4 separate regions of the Homo sapiens genome follow, and all the other regions are linked to region 4. Evidence: promoter capture Hi-C in human tissues and cell types (Jung and others, 2019). All regions are on one chromosome and are shown on one strand. The core of a region is centred on a gene start or on the middle of the fragment in contact, and the rest is flanking DNA. Distances in the headings are between cores, read along the strand shown.

What was found. Contacts are between HindIII fragments. The study calls those that stand out against the background at their distance.
Region 1: a contact is called between a fragment that was not itself captured here and the fragment with the promoter of ASCC2 in region 4, in 7 of the 25 tissues and cell types used here (H1 embryonic stem cells, IMR-90 fibroblasts, dorsolateral prefrontal cortex and 4 more).
Region 2: a fragment that was not itself captured here is called in contact with the fragment with the promoter of ASCC2 in region 4 in 2 of the 25 tissues and cell types used here (dorsolateral prefrontal cortex and neural progenitor cells).
Region 3: a contact is called between a fragment that was not itself captured here and the fragment with the promoter of ASCC2 in region 4, in 3 of the 25 tissues and cell types used here (liver, mesendoderm cells and thymus).

The regions. Positions count from the first base shown.
Region 1 is chr22:30,035,597-30,038,522 of GRCh38, forward strand. All of the region lies in intron 3 of HORMAD2-AS1 (HORMAD2 and MTMR3 antisense RNA 1), which reads right to left. Among named protein-coding and RNA genes, the nearest start is that of MIR6818, 30 kb to the left of the region's middle. The HindIII fragment of the contact is 4,617 bases long and covers 1-2,926 here.
Region 2 is chr22:29,638,958-29,641,657 of GRCh38, forward strand. NF2 (NF2, moesin-ezrin-radixin like (MERLIN) tumor suppressor) reads left to right here. Exons shown (of 16, transcript NM_000268.4): 3 at 133-255. Among named protein-coding and RNA genes, the nearest start is that of NF2, 37 kb to the left of the region's middle. The HindIII fragment of the contact is 5,010 bases long and covers 1-2,700 here.
Region 3 is chr22:29,678,669-29,681,440 of GRCh38, forward strand. NF2 (NF2, moesin-ezrin-radixin like (MERLIN) tumor suppressor) reads left to right here. Exons shown (of 16, transcript NM_000268.4): 15 at 2,771-2,772. Among named protein-coding and RNA genes, the nearest start is that of CABP7-DT, 40 kb to the right of the region's middle. The HindIII fragment of the contact is 5,631 bases long and covers 1-2,772 here.
Region 4 is chr22:29,837,024-29,839,790 of GRCh38, forward strand. It overlaps ASCC2 (activating signal cointegrator 1 complex subunit 2), which reads right to left and starts at 1,251. Exons shown (of 20, transcript NM_032204.5): 1 at 1,155-1,251. RefSeq lists an enhancer at 1,524-1,583. The HindIII fragment of the contact is 14,310 bases long and covers 1-2,767 here.

The DNA.
Region 1 (2,926 bases), core at 164-2,663, 200 kb after region 4:
TCCAGCAAGTATCCTGTCTTGCTCCTTCCCTTCACTGTGAAACGAATAGAAAGAGTGGCCAGCTCTATATCGTCTTTGCTCCACCACCCCTTCCTCTTCCTCCTGCTTCTGCTGCCCCCCACCACCCCAACACTGGGTGTCCCCAAGGACTAGCCACACACTCTAGACCCACTCCAAAGCATTCTTTCTTGCAACCATTCTGCAACCTGCCACCTTGCTAACCCTCCTGCCAGTTCTTCTGCCTCTGTAGTTGGCCTGTGAGACTTTGCAGGCAGCCCTCTCACCTACTTCCTTGGCATTACTGCTCTGAGGCTCAGCTCTCTGCCCTCCTTCCACGCATGCTTCCTTGGACATGCAGAAATTAAAGTGCTGAAAATGGAGGCCTGTTATATACCACAGTTCTAAGTCTCTAGAGGCCTCCTTCAGGCACCTGGGGAGACTGCGAGAGCATCAGGTGTCCCCATCTGGACGTGTCTATGTGGCCATGCTTCACCTGCACCCCCACGCAGTTCGATGGCATTAACCTGGGGACTAGTTCTGGGCCTGAAAACTGAGCTCAGCCTTGTCAGCCAGAGATGCCTCGGGGCTTCCCCTGAACTGAGAGGCCACGACGTCTGCTCTTCGCTTTTATCCTCTGTTGCAGGATGCAGTCAGCACCTAGTGCAGGGGTGAACGCCGATGCCAAGTTTGCCCTCCTATCCTTCAACCCCAAGTAGGAAGTTCACCTCTTATTTTCATATTGTAATTGAATTCCGACACCCCACCAACCCTTCCTGGGACTGGGGGAAGCCCCATCGTCAGTCTATTTATGACACTCCGTCGTAGGAAGCTTTGACCCTGGTTGGACAGGAATGAGCTAGAGCACCCAAAGCCACTGGGCATGGTTTCTGTGTGCTGCCCTAGGCAAGGGCAGAGGGGCTCTGCCTCTCCTTACCTGGGCCTACCAGAACACCCTTGCCAGTCACATGTCTTCCGGGTCACCCTGCTGCCCTCCAAGGCACCTCATGCCCTCAGAGGGCCCTGCTGATGCCTGAAAAGCCCAGATCAAGCTGAGAACAAGGGCCTGGCTGTCTGTTCAGGAACCCTCTGCCCTGTTCTGCCTCGGTACTCTGTCACCCCTCATTGCTGAGGACCCTAACCAATGCATGCACAGAGAGTCTTGGCTTCTGACAGCTCTGGATATGCTCTGTGGCGCCTTCATGTAGTAAGTCATTGAAGGCTAAGTCTCTGTGCAGGCTTCACTGGTGACTCACACATGTCCCCACCCCTACCATTCCATGAGATGACATGGGACTTCTGTCTCAGGCACTGTTTGCTCTCAAGAATATGCTGCCTGTTAGGGAAGATGATCAGGCAGATAAATATATTCATACCCTCATCCAAAAAGAACAGGACCTGAAAAAGCCTCTTAGAGGCAACCCATTGAAAATGGAGACCAGTGTTTCATACAGCACATAGTGAAAAAGGTTTGATCCGAATTTAATCTTGTAAAATGAAACTATTATTGAAATAAGTATCTTTTTTGAATCGACAAAATTATATATAATATACAGTATGTTTTGAAATATGTATACATTGTGTAATGGTTTAAATCGATCTAATTAACATATGCGTTACCTCACATACTTATTTTTTTGTGATGAGAGACACTTAAAATCTACCCTCTTAGAGATTTTCAAGAATACAATGCATTGTTATTAACTAAGTCACCTTGTGGTGCAATAGAGCTCTTTAACCTAATCCTATTTAACTGAAATTTATCCTTTAACCAGTATCTCCCACTGTTTTGTTTAAAAGTATGTTTTAACAAAAGGTAATTGCAACTATAGGCTAATTCTTTGTTGTTGTTGTCGTTATTGAGAGAGGGTCAGTCTCGCTCTGTTGCCCAGGCTGGAGTGCAGTGGCACGATCTTGGCTCACTACAACCTCCGCCTCCTGGGTTCAAGAGATTCTCGTGCCTCAGCTTCCTGAGTAGCAGGGATTATAGGCATGCACCAGTACACCCAGCTAATTTTTGTAGTTTTAGTAGAGGTGGGGTTTTGCCATGTTGGCTTGGCTGGTCTCAAACTTCTGACCTTAAGTGATCCACCTGCCTTGACCTCCCAAAGTGCTGGGATTACAGGCGTGAGCCACCACTCCCGACCAGGCTAATTCTTAAAAATAATATTTTAGGTGTATTTCCCTCCCCAAATTATATGATTGCACAATAGGACATTATTTCATGTTTGATTTTCTAGTGTAATCAATCACAGGATCATTTTAGGAAAAGTTAGTCAAGGGCTTCCTCAATTTCCCTCTTAAATCCTTTAGTCTTTGATATTCACATCATCCCCCTAGGAAACACCTAATTGGTTAGACATGTCACCTTCCCCTTCATTTGTTAATGGACCTACTCTCTGCGATCCTTATTTCCAATGGCTACACTCATCTGAGCAGTTTGCCAACACATTCACCAACTATGTGAAATTCTGCATATTTTACAAAACTTAAATTGTACTTTGGTGCCTGTTTTGTTGTATTTTCAACATCTCACAATCCGTAACAGGGAAGTTGGGCTATGGTGGATGGAGAGTATGTTAAGGAGGAAGAGATGTTTAAGTGGAGAGTGATTTTTCTAAGTGGTTGAGTTGTGTAGAGAATACTCTTCATGTCTGATGACTTTAGCTTTCTCCACAACTAGTGGCTACAGGAACTTGGATACTGACTAGTTGGAGTTATAGCTCAGAGGAAGAAGAGAGTACATGTACATCTGAGCAGGGAGCCTGCCCCTTGGGGGATAGCAGTGACATCAACACATGGCAATATGATGACGTCAAGGTGAGCCAAGGCAAGTGGGCGGGTTTCAGGATCTGAGCCAGAGGGCATGGGTTAGCGAACAGGAAAGGCAGGAAATATTTGTTAAAAGCTTAGGCCAAAAAAGTCTCCT
Region 2 (2,700 bases), core at 1-2,500, 200 kb before region 4:
CACAACTTTCAGGAAATGTGATAAATTTAGTGGGAAAAAAATTTAATGCACGCCTTGCAAAGGCTTCTTTGAGGGTAGCACAGGAGGAAGTGCCAATATAGTGTGTTTGTCTTTTGCTCTGCAATTCTGCAGGTACTGGATCATGATGTTTCAAAGGAAGAACCAGTCACCTTTCACTTCTTGGCCAAATTTTATCCTGAGAATGCTGAAGAGGAGCTGGTTCAGGAGATCACACAACATTTATTCTTCTTACAGGTACATCAGTCAAGGCTACCCCCCAGTTCTGAGAGAACTTGCCCAGGAGTGGTTGCAGAGTTGGCCTCAGAGTTGACCACAAACACCTTTGTATTGCAAAAATATTCTACCTCTGGAAGGTCAGCCCCTTTGGTTCTGTAATGGAAAAAAGGCTTCAGAACAGAACTATACTTGAGTGATGAAAATTGGTGTCAGATGAAATTGTGAAGGTGTGATGGTGAAGAATGGATACAAGTAGCTACCTAACTTAAAACCTCCTTGAAAATGGGTCCTATTTTCTTCTAGCTAACTTAAAAGTACTCAATAGTTTCAAAGGAAGGCTAAAGAGAGAGTCTTATAAAGCAGTAGTTCTTCCAAAAGTTTAAAATCTGCTCTCATTAAGAGAGGACTGGCCGGGCATGGTGGCTCAGGCCTGTAATCCCAGCACTTTAGGAGGCCGAGGCGGGCAGATCACAAGGTCAGGAGATCGAGACCATCTGGCTAACATGGTGAAACCCCGTCTCTACTAAATATACAAAAATTAGCCGGGTGTGGTGGCAGGTGCCTGTAGTCCCAGCTACTCGGGAGGCTGAGGCAGGAGAATCACTTGAACCTGGAAGATGGAGGTTGCAGTGAGCCAAGATCGCGCCACTGCACTCCAGCTTGGGCAACAGAGTGAGGTTCCGTCTCAAAAAAAAAAAAAAAAAAAAAAAAAAGGACTTCAGCCGGGCGGGTTGGCTCACCCCTGTAATCCCAGCACTTTGGGAGGCTGAGGCGGGCAGATCACGAGGTCAGGAGTTCAAGACCAGCCTGACCAACATGGTGAAACTCCATGTCTACTAAAAATACAAAAATTAGCCAGGCATGGTGATGCATGCCTGTAATCCCAGCTACTCAGGAGGCTGAGGCAGGAGAATCACTTGAACCCAGGAGGCGGAGGTTGCAGTGAGCCAAAATTGAGTCACTTCACTCTAGCCTGGGTGACAGAGTGAGACTCTGTCTTAAAAAAAAAAAAAAAAAAAAAAAAAGAGGACTTCAGAGCTCTAGTGACACTTGGTTTGTCCCCCATATGTGGTACTTCAGACATCGTGCTTCATGCTATGCTGTGTCTCTAATTGTCCTATTTCTTCCTTAATTCCTCATTAGATTGTAAGCCCCTTAAAGGCAAGCCTCATTAAGTACACAGTAGGCATTCCATAAGTAATTGTCCCACCGAATTGAAGAAATTAAGAAATTCACAATTACAGGTTGACCATCCAGAGGCACAGGGAGGGGAACTGGTCTGAGGATGAAAACCTTATCAGTTTCACTTATGTTCTTACTGCAGGTCAGAGTGGCTCCCCAGTTTCATGGCCAGTTGCAGTGATTGGCACTGGGGCTATTTGTGTGCTCAAAGGTTTCAGTAATGTAAAAGATGGCAGTAGGGGCATTAATTACATGATTTCCCAGAGATAGTTGGGTAGTCTGTCACATAGCCCTCCTGTAATTAATTTCAGCCTCAGTATATTGTGGTCAGCAAATATTAAGTTAAATATAATAAAACCCCCTAAATTCTTTTTAAAAAAGGTCTGGGGGGCGTGTGTGTGTGTGTGTGTGTGTGCACGCGCAAAAGAGGTGACAAATTTATTTCTGATGTTTGCAGATCAAAGGGACACTCTTAGGCTGGGCGTGGTGGCTCATGCCTGTAATCCCAGCAATTTGGGAGGCCGAGGCGGGTGGATCACCTGAGGTCAGGAGTTTGAGACCACCCTGACCAACATGGAGAAACCCCGTCCCTACTAAAAATACAAAATTAGCCGGGCATGGTGGCACATGCCTGTAATCCCAGCTACTTGGGAGACTGAGGCAGGGGAATCACTTGAACCCGGGAGGTGGAGGTTGCAGTGAGCCGAGATTGCGCCATTGCACTCCAGCCTGGGCAACCAGAGTGAAACTCCTTCTCAAAAGAAAAGGGATGTTCTTGCAGTTTTTCTATAGCGTTGCTTTTTCCCCCCTCTCTTTGGAAATGAAACCAAGGGATTAGAAAGTTGCACTGCTTGAGAAACATCTCAGGTTTCATTTTCTCTCTAAGAATGTAAAATCACTTTTAAAACCTAAGAAGAATTTTTGTGTTTGAACGTAAACACCTAACAATCTCCTAGGTCCCAGAATGTCCTAATGTTATAGAAATGGCTTTCTTGTAAGTACTTGGAAGCACTGCCTGTCTCTTGTGTGACTGACTTGATTTTCCCCATACTGAAATGTTAAGGCATTTTTATGACTGAGCAAGGCAAAATTTACTGCTTTTATGAATCCGGTGACTGTTGACATCTGTGAGAGGAGAGCTGGCTTTCCTGCTGTGTTTATTTCAGTGTCCCCCTGCCACGTCATGCAGTTGTCTTGCTTCTGTGTCTGGAACATCCCAAGTTGCACCATTCTAAGAAAATTAAGTGCAATGAAATATGTTAATTCAACATTATGGCTTAA
Region 3 (2,772 bases), core at 273-2,772, 160 kb before region 4:
TGTAGTCACCTCCTAGTTGTGTTCTCCAGCAACTGGGATCTGTGGTGGTTCCCATGTCTAGAACAAACAAAGGTGAGAGAAGAGACTCAGGCTCGAGGCTAAGGAAAGCTGACAGCTGGTGGGGCCACTTTGCTGCAGTGGGTGGCACTGGGCAGGGCCCCAGCATGGCCTGATCATGGCAGCAATTGCTGAGCTGCCCTCCGTCTTCCCTTTATTGTGGGTAGAAGTGGATCAGAGATGGAAAGGAAAGGATCCCCACTGCAGAGGAAATCTAAGCGAGGGCCCCTAGTTCCCAGAGCTAGCGGTAAGTTGGTTAACTGCTGCTGCTTGCTAGAGGACAACCACAGTAGCTACCATGCATTGAGTGCCTGTGTGTCAGGGGTTTTGGCTTTTGTCTCATTTAATTCCTGCTAACTTACAAACATCAAAATGACATCAAAGGTAGGTTTTCATGTTCCCATTTTATAAGTGAGAACTCAGATTTAGAGAGTTTAGTGAACTCCACCAGCATCCCACAGCTGATGCAGAGGGGTTGAAACCCCTCACCCATCTGACTCTGCAGCCCATGTGCTTTTACCATGGGTGGTATCCTCAGGAAAACCCTTTGGGGAAAGTGTCTCCATGGAGTCCAGTATGGGCAACCAGAACCCAGGCTGTTTTTCTTTGGGCTCTCACACTGAGGGTATAGCTAAGTAGCCAATGAACCAGAGCCTCTAGCTGTCATATCTGCTGTCCATGTTCCTTTCACCATTATCCAGACATATACATTTATGTGGTTGGGATCCGGGATCAGGGTGAAGCTGTTCTGTGTCTGCTATTTTATAGTTTGTATTTTGTTACTATCTTAGTTTGTTTTGGCTACTGTAACAAAATACCAGAGGCTGGGTAGCTTATAAACAACAGAAATTTATTTCTTGGCCAGGCACAGTGGCTCATGCCTGTAATTCCAGCACTTTGGGAGTCCAAGGGGGGCAGATCTCTTGAGCCAGGAGTTCAAGACCAGCCTGGGCAACATGGCAAAACCCCATTTCTACTAAGAATACAAAAATTAGCTGGGTGTGGTGGCACATGCCTGTGGTCCCAGCTACTCGGGAGGCTGAGGTGGGAGGATTGCTTGAGCCTGGGAGGCAGAGGTTGCAGTGAGCCCAGATTGCACCACTGCACTCCAGCCTGGGCAACAGAGAGACACCCTGTCTCAAAAAAAAAAAAAAGAAAAGAAAGAAATTGATTTCTCACAGTTTGGGAGGCTGAGAAGGCCAAGATCAAGGCACGGGCAGAGGTGGAGTCTAGTGAGGGCATTCTTGCTGGTTCATAATCAGCCCCTTTTTGCTGCATGCTCACCCAGTGGAAGGGATGAGGGGTCTCTCTGGAGTCTCTTTTATAAGGGCACTAATCCCATTCATGAGGCTCTACCCTCATGACTGCCCAAAGGCCCCACCTCCTGACACTTTTTTTTTTTTTGAGATGGAGTCTCACTCCATCGCCCAGGCTGGAGTGCAGTGGTGCGATCTCGGCTCACTGTAACCTCCACCTCCTGGGTGCAAGCGATTCTCCTGCCTCAGCCTCCTGAGTAGCTGGGATTACAGGCGCATGCTATCACGCCCAGCTAACTTTTGTATTTTTAGTAGAGATGGGGTTTCACCATGTTGGTCAGGCTGGTCTCGAACTCCTGACCTCATGATCCGCCCACCTTGGCCTCCCAAAGTGTTGGGATTACAGGCGTGAGCCACCACACCCAGCCGGTGATTAGGTTTCCACATATGAATTTTGAAGACACGAACATTCAGACCATAGCACTTCTTACCCTTGCACATATTGGCAGAGTCTCTATACTAACCATGGCAATCCCTATGGAGTGTTTTTGGTATTTGTATTGCATGGTTTTTCTGGCCATGCCTTGTAGTTGGACACTTTGTGGGTGGTTTCCAGATTTTCACCATCATAGATGCTGTCACTCAGTGTTATCTGTTCTCAGGTGAGGGTGGGGATCTTTTCTTCCTTGCGTTGGGTGAGCTTCTGAGTGAGCTTCTGTCATCTTTAGATGAAGTCTCAGAACAAGTGGGAATGTGGATGTGGCCTATCAAAAGAGATCACGTGAAGCTGGGCGCTGTGGCTTATGCCTATAATCCCAGCCCTTTGAGACCAGGGGTTCAAAGCCAGCCTGGGCAGCATAGCAAGATCCTATAAAAAAAAAAAAGAGTTTACTTGAATTACTGCTCCAAGAAGGGTTGAGACAAGGAGATTGTTCTGGGTTCCCAGGAAGCTTGTTTCACGTATGTTTTTTTTTTGTACAGAACGAAAAGCTGTCCATGAGAGCTGGTATTTGTAGAGCCCCCTATGAGAATTTACCAAGGGCTTTTCTACTCTTTCTTTTTCTTTCCTTTTCTTTTTTTTTTTTTAAAAATAGAGACAGGGTCTTGCTATGTTTCCCAAGCTGGTCTCCAACTCCTGGGCTCAAGCAATCCTCCTGCCTCAGCCACCCAAAGTACTGGGATTACAGGTGGAGCCACCGTGCCTGGCCTCCTACACTGTTTTATTTAATCCTAACCACGGCCCTGTGATCATTATCCCAATTTTAATGATGAGGAAACATTCATAGCATTTAAGTGACCAGCCCAAGCTCCCATGGCCTGTGAGTGGCCAAGTAGAGACGTGAACCCCAGGCCTCAAACCCTAGATCGCACACCAAGCAGCTTGTGGGCCGCAGAGCACCTGAGCCGTGTCTCACTGTCTGCCCAAGCCCTGATGCATGATACCCTCTTGCCGGCAGAG
Region 4 (2,767 bases), core at 1-2,500:
AGCTATGTAGATAAGGCTCATGAAGCTGTGGCAGCATTTAAAAGAGAGACCTGGCTTGAGGAAGAAGTGATGTCAAGGAAGACCTGAGTTTTTGTCTAAAGCACGGGTACAAATTAAGTAGGCAGGGCTGGGCGCGATGGCTCACGCCTGTAATCCCAGCGCTTTGGGAGGCCAAGGCGGGCGGATCACGAGGCCAGGAGATCGAGACCATCCTGGCTAGCAAGGTGAAACCCCGTCTCTACCGAAAAAAAAAAAAAAAATTAGCAGGGCGTGGTGGTGCATGCCTGTAATCCTAGCTACTCAGGAGGCTGAGGCAGGAGAATCGCTTGAACCCGGGAGGCGGAGGTTGCAGTGGGACGAGATCACGCCACTGCACTCCAGCCTGGGCGACAGAGCAAGACCCCGTCTTGGGGGGAAAAAATAAATTAACTGGACAATCTGAACTTTGAGCTCCAAAAGGACAAACAATAATCATGACTATGTCTGTGCCCACCACTGTATTCCCCTGCCAGGCAGGACAGCAAAAGCCAAAAGCTAAGAAAGGGAGGGGGAGCTCCCTACAAGCACCCAATTGCAATATGGCCTGGGAGCATCCCCGGGGCTACTGCTCCCTCAGCCTCTTTGTCATCATTCCTCTAGTCTCTCAATTAAATACTACTCTCCTCAGAGACCTTCTGATGGCTCTGCCTATAGTATCCACTCTCCCAGTTACTGTCATAGCTTTAATGACCTTGTGCATTTGCTTGTCGTTGACCATCTCCTCCCACTAGACTGTAAGCTCCATGAGGGCAGAAGCCTTGTCTGTCTTGCTTTCTTTGTATCCCCAATGTCTAGATCTGTGTCTGGCACATAGGAAGCACTCCACAAATATTTGCTGAACGAATGAATGAACCCTGAGGAAACTGAAGCCCCGGGTGTGAGGACGTGGGGGGATCGTGGCTGGTCCAACGCCACTCTGGGGCCGAACTTCGAACCCGTGGCTCCTGACCCTGGCGGCCAAGTCTCGAGAGGCGGCTCACAACCCCTCAGGTAGCGTAAGCGTGGGCCCCGCAATGGAGGCCAGAGGATGGGAGAGCCAAGGCTGCCCAAGGCATAGCCGCGGCTCCTCCGGGGTCCCTTGCCCTGCATCTGGCAGGGACCAGCCACGCACTCACCTCGGCGGCTCCACCACCGGCTCTGTGCCGCCGCCGCCGCCGCCGCCGCCGACCACGGTGACAGCTCCCTGAGCGCCCGCACTTCCGGGGTCAAACTGCGATTCCGCAGGAGCAGACAGGAAGTCTCGGCCTGGCCCCGCCCCCAGAGCCGAGCAAACTACCGCCGGGAAGCCGGACCCGGGTTGCGCCTCTCTTCTTAAGACTCCGCCCCACACTCGGCGTCTGTAGCCACGCCCCCTTCCCCTCCTATCTCCCTTCCTGCTTAAGCAGAGAATAGGTCAGCTGAGGGCGGGCTGTGTGATTACACCTCTCGGGAAATCCAAGTATGGCACCTGAGAGGACGTCTCGGAATCCCAGGCTTCCACCTTCTGCCCGACCTCCTTAGTCACCGTTTTACATATTTAATCCAGAAGAGAAATTTTAACAAGTCAAAAGCACGAACATAATGTTAAGCAGATGTACAAGTACAGACTGCGATTTCATTTACGGGAAATTCTAGAACAGACAGAACTCATGAGTAGTGATGGTGTTAAAATTGGTGGTTTCCTCTGGGGCTGTGGGCTGGGAGGGGCCACAAGTGAGGCTGGGGTCACCCCCTGTCTTCATCTCGGTGGTAGCCATGTAGATGTGTTCACTTTGGAAAATTCATCAAATTGTACGCTTAAGATTTGTGCATTTTTCTGTATGTATGCAATACAGTTTTGTTCTGTTTTGTTTAAGGAAGTTACAAGTATAGCTATCCTAAGAGAAGGATGCAATTTTTTCTACAGAATGTCTCAGGTAATGTAGGTTTAGTGGTTCCTAAGCCTGACTATGGATCAGAATCATCACAGAAAACTTGTTAAGAACACACATTCCTGGCTTCATCTCAGTGCCTGGTACACAGTAAGAATTCAAAACCAACCACCATCATTATTGGGGTGTTATAGAAGCCCCCGAATGGAGAACACAACCCCACCCTGGGATTGTGAAATATTTCCCAGGACACTCCTGCCAACCCCTGCTATCTGCACTAGGGCTACAAGGAATGCTTAGTTCAGTGCCTGTCTTCAAGGGGCTTACAGGATAGGAAGTGCAAGAAAACCAATAGCAATGAGTCAGTGTGATGAATGCAGGGTGCTAAGGAAATAGGAGAGATGGGCTGTAAACCAGAAATGAGATGAGAGGGGCTGGATATTATATTAGTTTTGTATTGCTGCATAACATATTACCACAAACTTATAACAACACACTGCTTGCCACTTATAACAAACACATTTATTTATTTATTTATTTTGAGACAGAGTCTCACTCTGTCACCAGGCTGGAGTGCAGTGGTGTGATCTTGGCTCACTGTAACCTCTGCCTCCCGGAGGTTACAGTGGGTTCAAGCGATTCTCCTGCCTCAGCCTCCCAAGTAGGCAGGACTACAGGCATGAGCCACCAGGCCCAGCTAATTTTTGTATTTTTAGTAGAGACGGAGTTTCACCATGTTGGCCAGGATGGTCTCGATCTCTTGACGTCGTGATCCGCCTGCCTCAGCCTTCCAAAGTGCTGGGGTTACAGGCGTGAGCCACCACACCTGGCCAACAAACATATTTATTATCTCACATTTTCTGTGGGCCAGGAATCTG